Linked DNA regions of Homo sapiens: region 1 is linked to region 2. The links are contacts of gene promoters, found by promoter capture Hi-C in blood cells and fetal thymus (Javierre and others, 2016). All regions are on one chromosome and are shown on one strand. The core of a region is centred on a gene start or on the middle of the fragment in contact, and the rest is flanking DNA. Distances in the headings are between cores, read along the strand shown.

Region 1 (4,204 bases), core at 1-2,500, 510 kb after region 2:
ATATATTCTTATGTCTACTCCAGGGTAAACAGCTGTGTGAAGAGTGATGAGCATGTCCTGGAGGAGCTGGAAACAGAAGGGGAGAGGCAGCTGAAAAGCCTCCTTCAGCATCAACTTGATACTTCTGTCTCCATTGAGGAGTAGGTATTGATTTTGCAAACGGAGAGTATCATAGACTCTTACCTCCAGGTGACAGATCTCTCTTAAAGCCTAGATGGAATGTTCCTCTCCCACCTCCCTTTCTTTGTTAGACTTCAATGTATTAGGTAGGGTTTTAATTCTGTGTCTCTTCCTCTGGGAAGCCTCCCATATCTCACTAAGTCTGAGCCAAGTACCTATTTTATGTCCTCCTACAGCATCCCATATTTCCCTTAACATAGCACTTGTAACCCAATATTATCATTGCCTGTTTACTTGCCTCTGTTCCACTGTTTTTCCACAAAAGCAGGAGCCATTTTTATCTTTTTTATAAAGCTATTAAATCCTTAGTACCTAGCAGAGTATCTGATGCATAGTAAGTACTCAATAAATATTTGTTGATTTAGTTTATTATTCCTGGATGACGGCACTCTCGATGGAGTTCCATTTTGTTGCAGTGGTGCTTCAGCTTAGAAATAAGATGTAAGAGAAAATTTGCTGGTGAGTTTCATTGTACCTCTTACAGTGCTGAACCTCCATTTTTGTGAATGATAGTAACCTCAAGATGTTCTTACTCTCCTCCTGCATGTTTTGCAGATGTATGTCTAAGAAAGAGAGCTTTGCTCCTGGTACTATGTACAAGCCCTTTGGGAAGGAAGCAGCTGGGACTATGACTTTGTCCCAATTCCAGACACTGCATGAGAAGGACCAGGAAACTGCTTCTCTCAGGGAATTAGGGCTTAATGAAACAGAAATCTTGATCTGGAAGAGCCATGTTTCTGGTGAAAAGGTGAGTGGGGTAATGTTTTTTTTTGTTGGTTTTTCTCCTCAAAGAAACAGAGCAAAATATCTTCATTTTAGCACTGAGAGCCTTTTCATTTCTAGTTCTCACAAAACTGAGCTTGGTGTCTGAATCTTCTTTGATTTTTAGAATGCAGACATTGGTAAAAGAGAAGCTGTTCTTTAACTTCTTAGCTAACACTTTCTGTAAACATTCATTTCTGGGCCTAGGTCATCTTTTTACTTGAGATACCAGATCATCATGTTCAGGTTGTGCCCTCTATGATACATGCCATCTCATTCCTCTGGTTTCAGAAGACAAAACTGAGGGCAACTCCTGAAGCAATACAGAACCGTCTTCAAGATATTGAAGAAAGGATCTCGGAGCGTCAGCGCATTCTTTGCCTGCCACAGAGATTTGCAAAGAGCAAACAGCTGACCCGGCGAGAAATGGAAATAGAAAAGTCTTTATTTCAGGGAGCTGATCGTCACTCCTTCCTTAAGGCTCTTTATTACCAAGGTATGTGATCCCCACTGACTTTGATATATTCTTTCACTGAGAGAAAGATTAAACAGCAGGGCATTAAATATGAAGAGTTAGTGAAGGGAATAGGGGAAAGACAAATTGTCACTACTTTTGAGAAATGTATAATACCATAAGAGAGACAAATATGTGCACAGTTAGTTGCATGACAACATGGAAACTGCTATTATAGAGATTTGAATAAAATGCTGAGGTAGTGCAGAACACAGAGCATCTAAGTCTAGTTGGGGGAGTCAGAAGTTGACATTTATACTAACTCCTGATGGATCAATGGGCATTTGTCAGGTAAATAAAGGGGAATGGAGATTAAAGGTAGTAAATAGCAACAGGATTATGAAAGAACCTGGTGTGTCTAAGGAACAATGAGAAGTTTAACGTGGCAGGAGTAGAAGAAGTGGCAGGGAATGACAGGAGGTGACACTGGAAGGAAGGGGAGGCGAAGCTAGATTGTGAAGGGTCTTTAGGCTGAACTACAAATTAGCACAAAATATATAGATAAATAGTATGTGTCTTAACCAGAAGGATTTAGTTTGACAGATAAGTTTTACTAGACGCTGTGGAAGGTGCATGGAAGTTTAAGAAATGGTTCCTCACCTTGTGCCAAGTATAGTCTGGTTGGAGAGATAAACATGTAACATTTAGTGACAATACTAGATACATTTGTTAAGTGTTGTTGGAGTTCAGAGGAGGCAAAGGCCACTGTGTATTGGTGTGATTGAAGAAGCCCTCTCAGAGGAGGTAAGATTTAAATGTTCTTTTAATACTACCTATTCTTTAGAAAAGAGAGGTAATGACATTTCAGTTGCAACAGATGGTGTGAGCACTAGGGAGTGTGCTAACTATGGAGGAGATGTGAGACAAGGTTAGAAAGGTAGCTAAAAATTTTGAACTGTATTTGGTAACTAGTATAGACTTATACAGAGTTAGTTATCAGTTAGTTTCAATATGGTTGAAGGTTTTTGAACCAGAAGTGACATGATAAAAGCCATATTTGAAAATTATTAATCTGGTGGTCAATAAATAGGATTAGAGAGAGGAAGAACTGGAAGCAGGCAGAATGGATAGGAGATATTACAGTCATTTAGGCATGAAGACTTGGTCTAGAGTGATAGCAGTGAAATTGGAGAGAGGTAGGTTTATAATGGAAGAACTAATAAAACTCGTTGACTGAAAATGAAGGAGGGAGGTCAATGCAGAGGTATGTGTCAAAGATAATCCAGAGGTTTCAAGGCTGTGTGACTTACCAATTGGCAAAATTAAGAAAGCCTTTATGGGGAAATTTCGAGGAAGGATGATGAGTTTGATTTTAAACATGTGGAATTTGTGAGAATGGCAGGATCATCAAATGCAGATGTTGAGGAGACAGTTGGAAATGCAGCCGTGAAGCTCAGGAGAGAGGTCAGAACTAGATATATAGAACTGGGAATCATCTATCCTTAGATAACATGTTAAGGCCGTGAGAATGGATGAATGATTTGTTAGAGATAGAAGGATCATAGACATGGCAGAGCAGTGGTGAAGGAAGGAATGAATGAACAAATGAATAACCTTTTGTGGAGAGACATTTAGCATAATGATTAAGAACATGGGCTCTGGAGGCAGACTGCCTGGGAAAATCCTGGCTCCCCCACTTAACTAGCTATGAGATGCTAGGCAAGTTACCTCTCTATGCTTCAGTATCTTCATCTGTAAAATGAGAATATTAATAGTAGCTATGTTACAGGGTTACTAAGAGGATTAAGTGAGAGAATACATGTAAATCACTTAAAGCAGTACCTGGTATTTGGGGTGGAGGGTGGGTGGTTTATGAATCTGTTCTGTTTCCTATCTTTGAAACTCCTTGCTTTAAACCTTCACAGCATACCACAAAAAGACAAGTGCAGACAAGTACATGACCTCAATGAAGAGGAAGATAAAATTAGGCACAAAAGGCAAGTCGAGAGTTTTCTTATAGTGTTAGACTTAGGAATGTAACCTAGGGTCCCAGTTGAGCACTTATTTAATTCCATATTCAGTATATGACAATGTTTATAGGAAATGATCCAGAGGGAGCATATTATCCTGATACAGAATATTAAAGAGAGGAGTTAGTAGAAGTTGTAAAGCTTTTACATTTACTGCTGTTGTTTTTTCTCTATACATTTAAATTATTGTACCAGACATAAATTGACCTTAATGATTTTTAGATCCCATTTCACAAATAATTCTGAATATTTTTATTAGTCAGTAAAGTATAATTATTGATGATGATGATGATATGATAGCTAATATTTTCTTACTTTTGAAATGAACTTCCAATAAAATTGCATGGGGCTTCTTCTTTTTTGGTGTACAATTCTATGAATTGTAAATCATGTAGATTCATGTAACCACCACCACAATCAAGAAAGAGAATAGCTTCATCACCTTAAAAAACTCCCTCATGCTGTCCCTTTATAGTCATTCCCAACCCACCATAATTCCTGACAATCACTGACTGTTTTCCATCACTGTAGTTTTATCTTTTAGAAAATGTCATGTAAATGGAATCACACAACATGTAACCTTGTGAGACTGGCTTCTTTCACTCAGCATAATGCCTTTGAGACTCATTTGAGTTGTTGCGTGTATCAATAGTTCATTTATTTTGTTGAGTAGTGTTTCATCATATGGACATTCCAAAGTTTGTTTATCCATTCACCCATTGAAGTGCATTCGGGTTGTTTCCAGGTTATGATGGCTATGCATAATATTGATATGAAC
Region 2 (4,408 bases), core at 894-3,393:
GGGGGAGCAGTTATAGGGAGCAGTTACCATTTCTTCAGTATAGGAAAAACAAAGATAGGGGGAACTCCATAAAAAAAAATGTGATTATGTTCAATGAAGATTTCAGAATATCTAGGAAACAAGAAGCTAATGATTAAGCCAGAAACAAGAAAATCTAACCAGTCAGCAATTATCCATGTTGGACTTAATAGAAATCAATCAGTAGAAAACTAAGTTGTCCTCCCCCTCTCCTCTCCCAATATAGCCTCAGGTTCTGGGGTGCTGCATTATGCAGAGGGCAGAAGGATTAACACAAGGAGAAAATAAAGCTTTCATGCCTTCACATTTTTCCTAGACGCATAGGAAAAGGATTAAATATCCACAGGGGCCAAAGAAAACCTCTAAATGAAAAACATTCTTGTCCCCTAACTATATTGCCAATCACAAAGTCTAGTCCTGTTTTGTATTCTTTATTAAGGCCCATGAGCCATAATGGTTTGGAAAAATCTAAAGACAGCAGTTTGTAAGCCTCTTTTAACTAAGGTATTGCCTGGTTACAGATGGCAATGTTTACACTATCATTTGCATCACAATCAGTAGCACAATAATTCGGGAAGAAGCTGTCCATTATCGGTGACATTACTTTATCAGCTGGGTCTAAAAGAGATAAGGCGAGTTAAACTTGGAAATCAGTCCAAAGAAAGCAAAAAAGTAAGCAAAAACATTTAGGAAAAAATATTCGAAATATTCTTATCTGATTATTAGGTGAAAACTTTCCCCTTAACAAATCTGTAAGATTGTGGGCAGGGCTCTGATTTAATCGATAGGGTAACAATAAAATACAAATTACACCTATCAGAAACTAAAGATCCCACACTTAGGTGGAAGGGGCACTGAAATAATCAGGTAACCAAGTCATCTCTAAAACAGTCCCATGGTGCCGGTAGAGGGTGTAAGTCGGAGTCGAGGAAGCAAGTTTTACTGGCAAGGCAATGGAAAAAACGCAAGTTGCAATGCACTGTCCAATCCTAGTCTTCCACTACATTGCCTGTCCTCAATTATCTTTAACATTCAGGTATAAAATTGTTTCCTAAATTCCCTACACAGAGCTTAAAGAAGGAGCCAAGTCCAGGATGGACTCGGTTACTGAAAAATACGCTTTTGCATTATCTGTACCACTAGCTGCACTGGGGAAGGTCAAACATTCCAGAATTGAGATTTCCAAGATTTTTTGGATGGCTCAAGCTGAGATGCTGGCTATCAAGGATGCAGAGTCAACGCATCACTTTAACAAATCAACTAGATTTATGGCTCCAATTACTCAGGTAGATGATTCATAAGATGAGAAAAGCCAACGCTTGCTGATCTAAGGGAAGTCGTAATAATTTTGGCGCCTGCAGTATATAATGTCAGTTTCCCTCAACACCAAGCCGAACGGACCAACACCATTTCGAATCAAAAAGCTGCTTATTGGACTCTAGGAAAAGAAAGACCAGGAGAGCTCAGTACGCAGGTAGGCTCTCTAAATGCAAGCTAGTCTAAGAGCTGAAGCAACCCAGTCCAGCCTGGGTGGCTCAACAGCAAAGCCAAGCCACGTGTCCCTACCGCCCTGGCTAAGCGTCGGTCCCCTCTCGTCGCTCTATGCAGCCACTATCTATTGGGTCCCCCAGCCCTTGCCCTCAAACGCAGAAGCTTCGCCTCACACTCCATCTTTTGACTCCACCCCACCGCACGGTAAGAATGAACGTGACCCTCCCGCGAGAGGTAAAATAACGGAAACAGCCCGTGGGGTAGGCTAGTCACAGAGCTGCACCCTCTCCCCCCAACCCCCAGTCTGTTTGAGCTCAAGCGGCGACCCCATCCCTCCTATACTCTGCCGCCTGGGCAGGTGAGGTCTAGTCAGGGTCCCAACTTGGTCCTTACCAGGTCTCCTGGTTGCTGAATTTCTTAGTCACCACCTTGCCTAGCTCCAGGCCCAGGCGGTCAGCAATTTTCTGAGATAAGTCCTGGTGGGAGCTGCCGCTGAAGATTTTGATATTCGGCATCCTGGCCAACTACCCTAAGCACTCCACTAAGCGATCACGGCTGCTGCAGAGACCGGAACCGAAGTCGGCCACAGACTCAATACCAAGCGCTTTGCGTTGCTACTCCGCCATCTTACATTCCCGCCCGGCGCGCGGCTCTAAATTACCCAAAGCGGCGGAGGTGGGGTCAGCGGCGAAGTCCACACCCCGCTGGCAACGATTAGCTAAGAGGGAGCGAAGGGCGGGGTTTGGTCCTCGGTGTAGCTCTGCCTCCTTCCGATTCTCTCAGGTATTGGGTGAAGAGCATGAACGGGGGCGAGACTAACCCATAGCCCGGCCCCCTGTAGCTAGGCTGTTGGGGACAGGAGACGTTGGACTGGGGGTGGAGGGATGCTGGTGACGTCTGAGGCCAGATCGTTCCCGCTAGCGGGAAATCAACCATGCCTGCTTTTTTATTTCCCCTCCCTCAGCGCAGGAAAGTAAGTCTGGCTCTGGTTTACAGTTTCCTTTAAGAAAATCTGTTTATCAGGATGACAGCCACGAGTTTGCATGTTTCTGAACACATTTTTTATCTCTTTATAAGGATGGGGCTGAATTAAAACACTTTTACATCACAGACGTGCATGCAAGGAGTTTGCTTGCCCATTGTAATTGCAGTGTCGCCTTTGCCTGCAAGACAGTTTACATGGGGGAAGTGACTGAAGGCATGCCACCTGAATCATCCAAGAGACACTGCAAGAGAAAGTTGTTTTGTTTCTAGTGCTGGAACCAAGTATGTTGAAACAAGTGAAGGAAGATGGATTTTCCAAACTATCTGGACAATAAAGATCTAACTTTTATAGCCCTCGGAAAGGAAAGAAAGTATAGTGTTCTATGGGACTTCAGATAAAGAGCCCTGAAGGGATTTGAAAAAACCTGGGTTTTAGTCCTGTCTGCCTCATGTAAGCCTCAATGTCATCAGCTACATGTTGCTAATGTGGCCTTTTACACCATGTTTTATTATTTTTATAGCGATACTTGTTAATTGGACCTAAGTGAGCCTTTATTCTTGCACCATGTTTCCATTAAGCATATTTTAAGCATGGGTTAGGAGAAGATAAAAATCATACAATTCTGGAATCAAAAGTGACCATAGTGCTCATAACTACCAAATGTAAAAATAGAAGGGACCTCAGAGATCATATAGTCGTTTTACATATGATAAAACTGAGATGGAGGTGGGAGAGGGATTTATCTAAGTGGCAAAGGCAGAAAATACTCAAAGCAGCATCCTGTCTTTGTCTTACTGCTATTTTCAGCAGTGTCCATGGAGGACTTCTCCTTCTGACCTTTTTTGCACTTTTACAAGCTCAGAAATTTAATGTAGGCCCATGTATATAGGAATACTTGGAGAAGGAAGTAAACTGCAAGGCAGAATATTAGTAGTCTTCCATCATAGGCCATTCATCAAATATTTACTGAGTGTTCTATTGCATGCAAGGCAGTGTGCAAGGCGTTGAGGGGACTACAAAGTATTTGCCCCAAGGGATTCGTTCATTCAATAAATATTTAGTGAACATTCTTTATGTGCTAGGCCCTGTGTATTGGCACAAGAATACATTAGTAAACAATTAAAAATACCCTGCTGTCATGGAGTTTACATTCTCAAACAATAAACATGTAAATAAGCAAAATGCATAGTATGTCAAATGGCAATAAGTGTTGTGGAAAAAAAAATCAGGCAAGGAAAGTGGGATAATGTGCCAGAGTGTAGAGGAGAGGAGTACAATTTTAAGTAGGGTGGTCAGAGAAGACCTGTCTTGGAAGGTAACATTTGGGCAAAGACCTGAAGGAGGAAAAAAAAAACAAAAAAATGAGCCATGTTGATATCTCGATAAGCAAAGAGAACAGAAAGGGCAAATACCCTAAGGCAGATGTATCTCGCTTGTTTGAGGAATACCAATGCGGGACGAGTGTTGTGTGGTGGAGGTGGAATGTATCTATAAGAGAAAAGGAGGAAAGTGAGGTCAATGAGATAAGAGTGATTGGAGGCCGGCCAGGCACGGTAGCTCACGCCTGTAATCCCAGCACTCAGGGTGGCCGAGGTGGGCGGATCACTTGAGCTCAGGAGTTCAAGACCAGCCTGGGCAACGTGGCGAAACCTCGTCTCTACAAAAAATACAAAAATTAGCCAGGCGTGGTGGTGGGCACCTGTAGTCCCACTGAGGCAAGAGAATCACTTGAACTTGGGAGGCAGAGGTTGCAGCAGTGAGCGGAGATCGCACCACTGCACTCCAGCCTGGGCGACAGAGTGAGATTCTGTCTAAACAAAACAAAACAAAACAGTGATTGGGGGACTCAGGTGGGCACGATGGCTCATGTCTGTAATCCCAGTACTTTGGGAGGCCGAGGCGGGCGGATCACTC

Evidence for each region. Contacts are between HindIII fragments. The CHiCAGO score rates a contact against its expected background, and 5 or more counts as called.
Region 1: a contact is called between a fragment that was not itself captured here and the fragment with the promoter of PRPS1 in region 2, in 1 of 17 cell types (fetal thymus). The highest score is 7.4, in fetal thymus.

Annotation. Positions count from the first base shown.
Region 1 is chrX:107,112,586-107,116,789 of GRCh38, reverse strand. It overlaps RBM41 (RNA binding motif protein 41), which reads left to right. Exons shown (of 8, transcript NM_001324242.2): 2 at 24-140; 3 at 736-928; 4 at 1,234-1,438; 5 at 3,322-3,393. Among named protein-coding and RNA genes, the nearest start is that of RBM41, 4.1 kb to the left of the region's middle. The HindIII fragment of the contact is 4,639 bases long and covers 1-3,569 here.
Region 2 is chrX:107,626,245-107,630,652 of GRCh38, reverse strand. It overlaps PRPS1 (phosphoribosyl pyrophosphate synthetase 1), which reads right to left and starts at 2,143. Exons shown (of 7, transcript NM_002764.4): 1 at 1,903-2,143. The coding sequence starts at 2,024. RefSeq lists a silencer at 2,256-2,305. The HindIII fragment of the contact is 4,384 bases long and covers 1,674-4,408 here.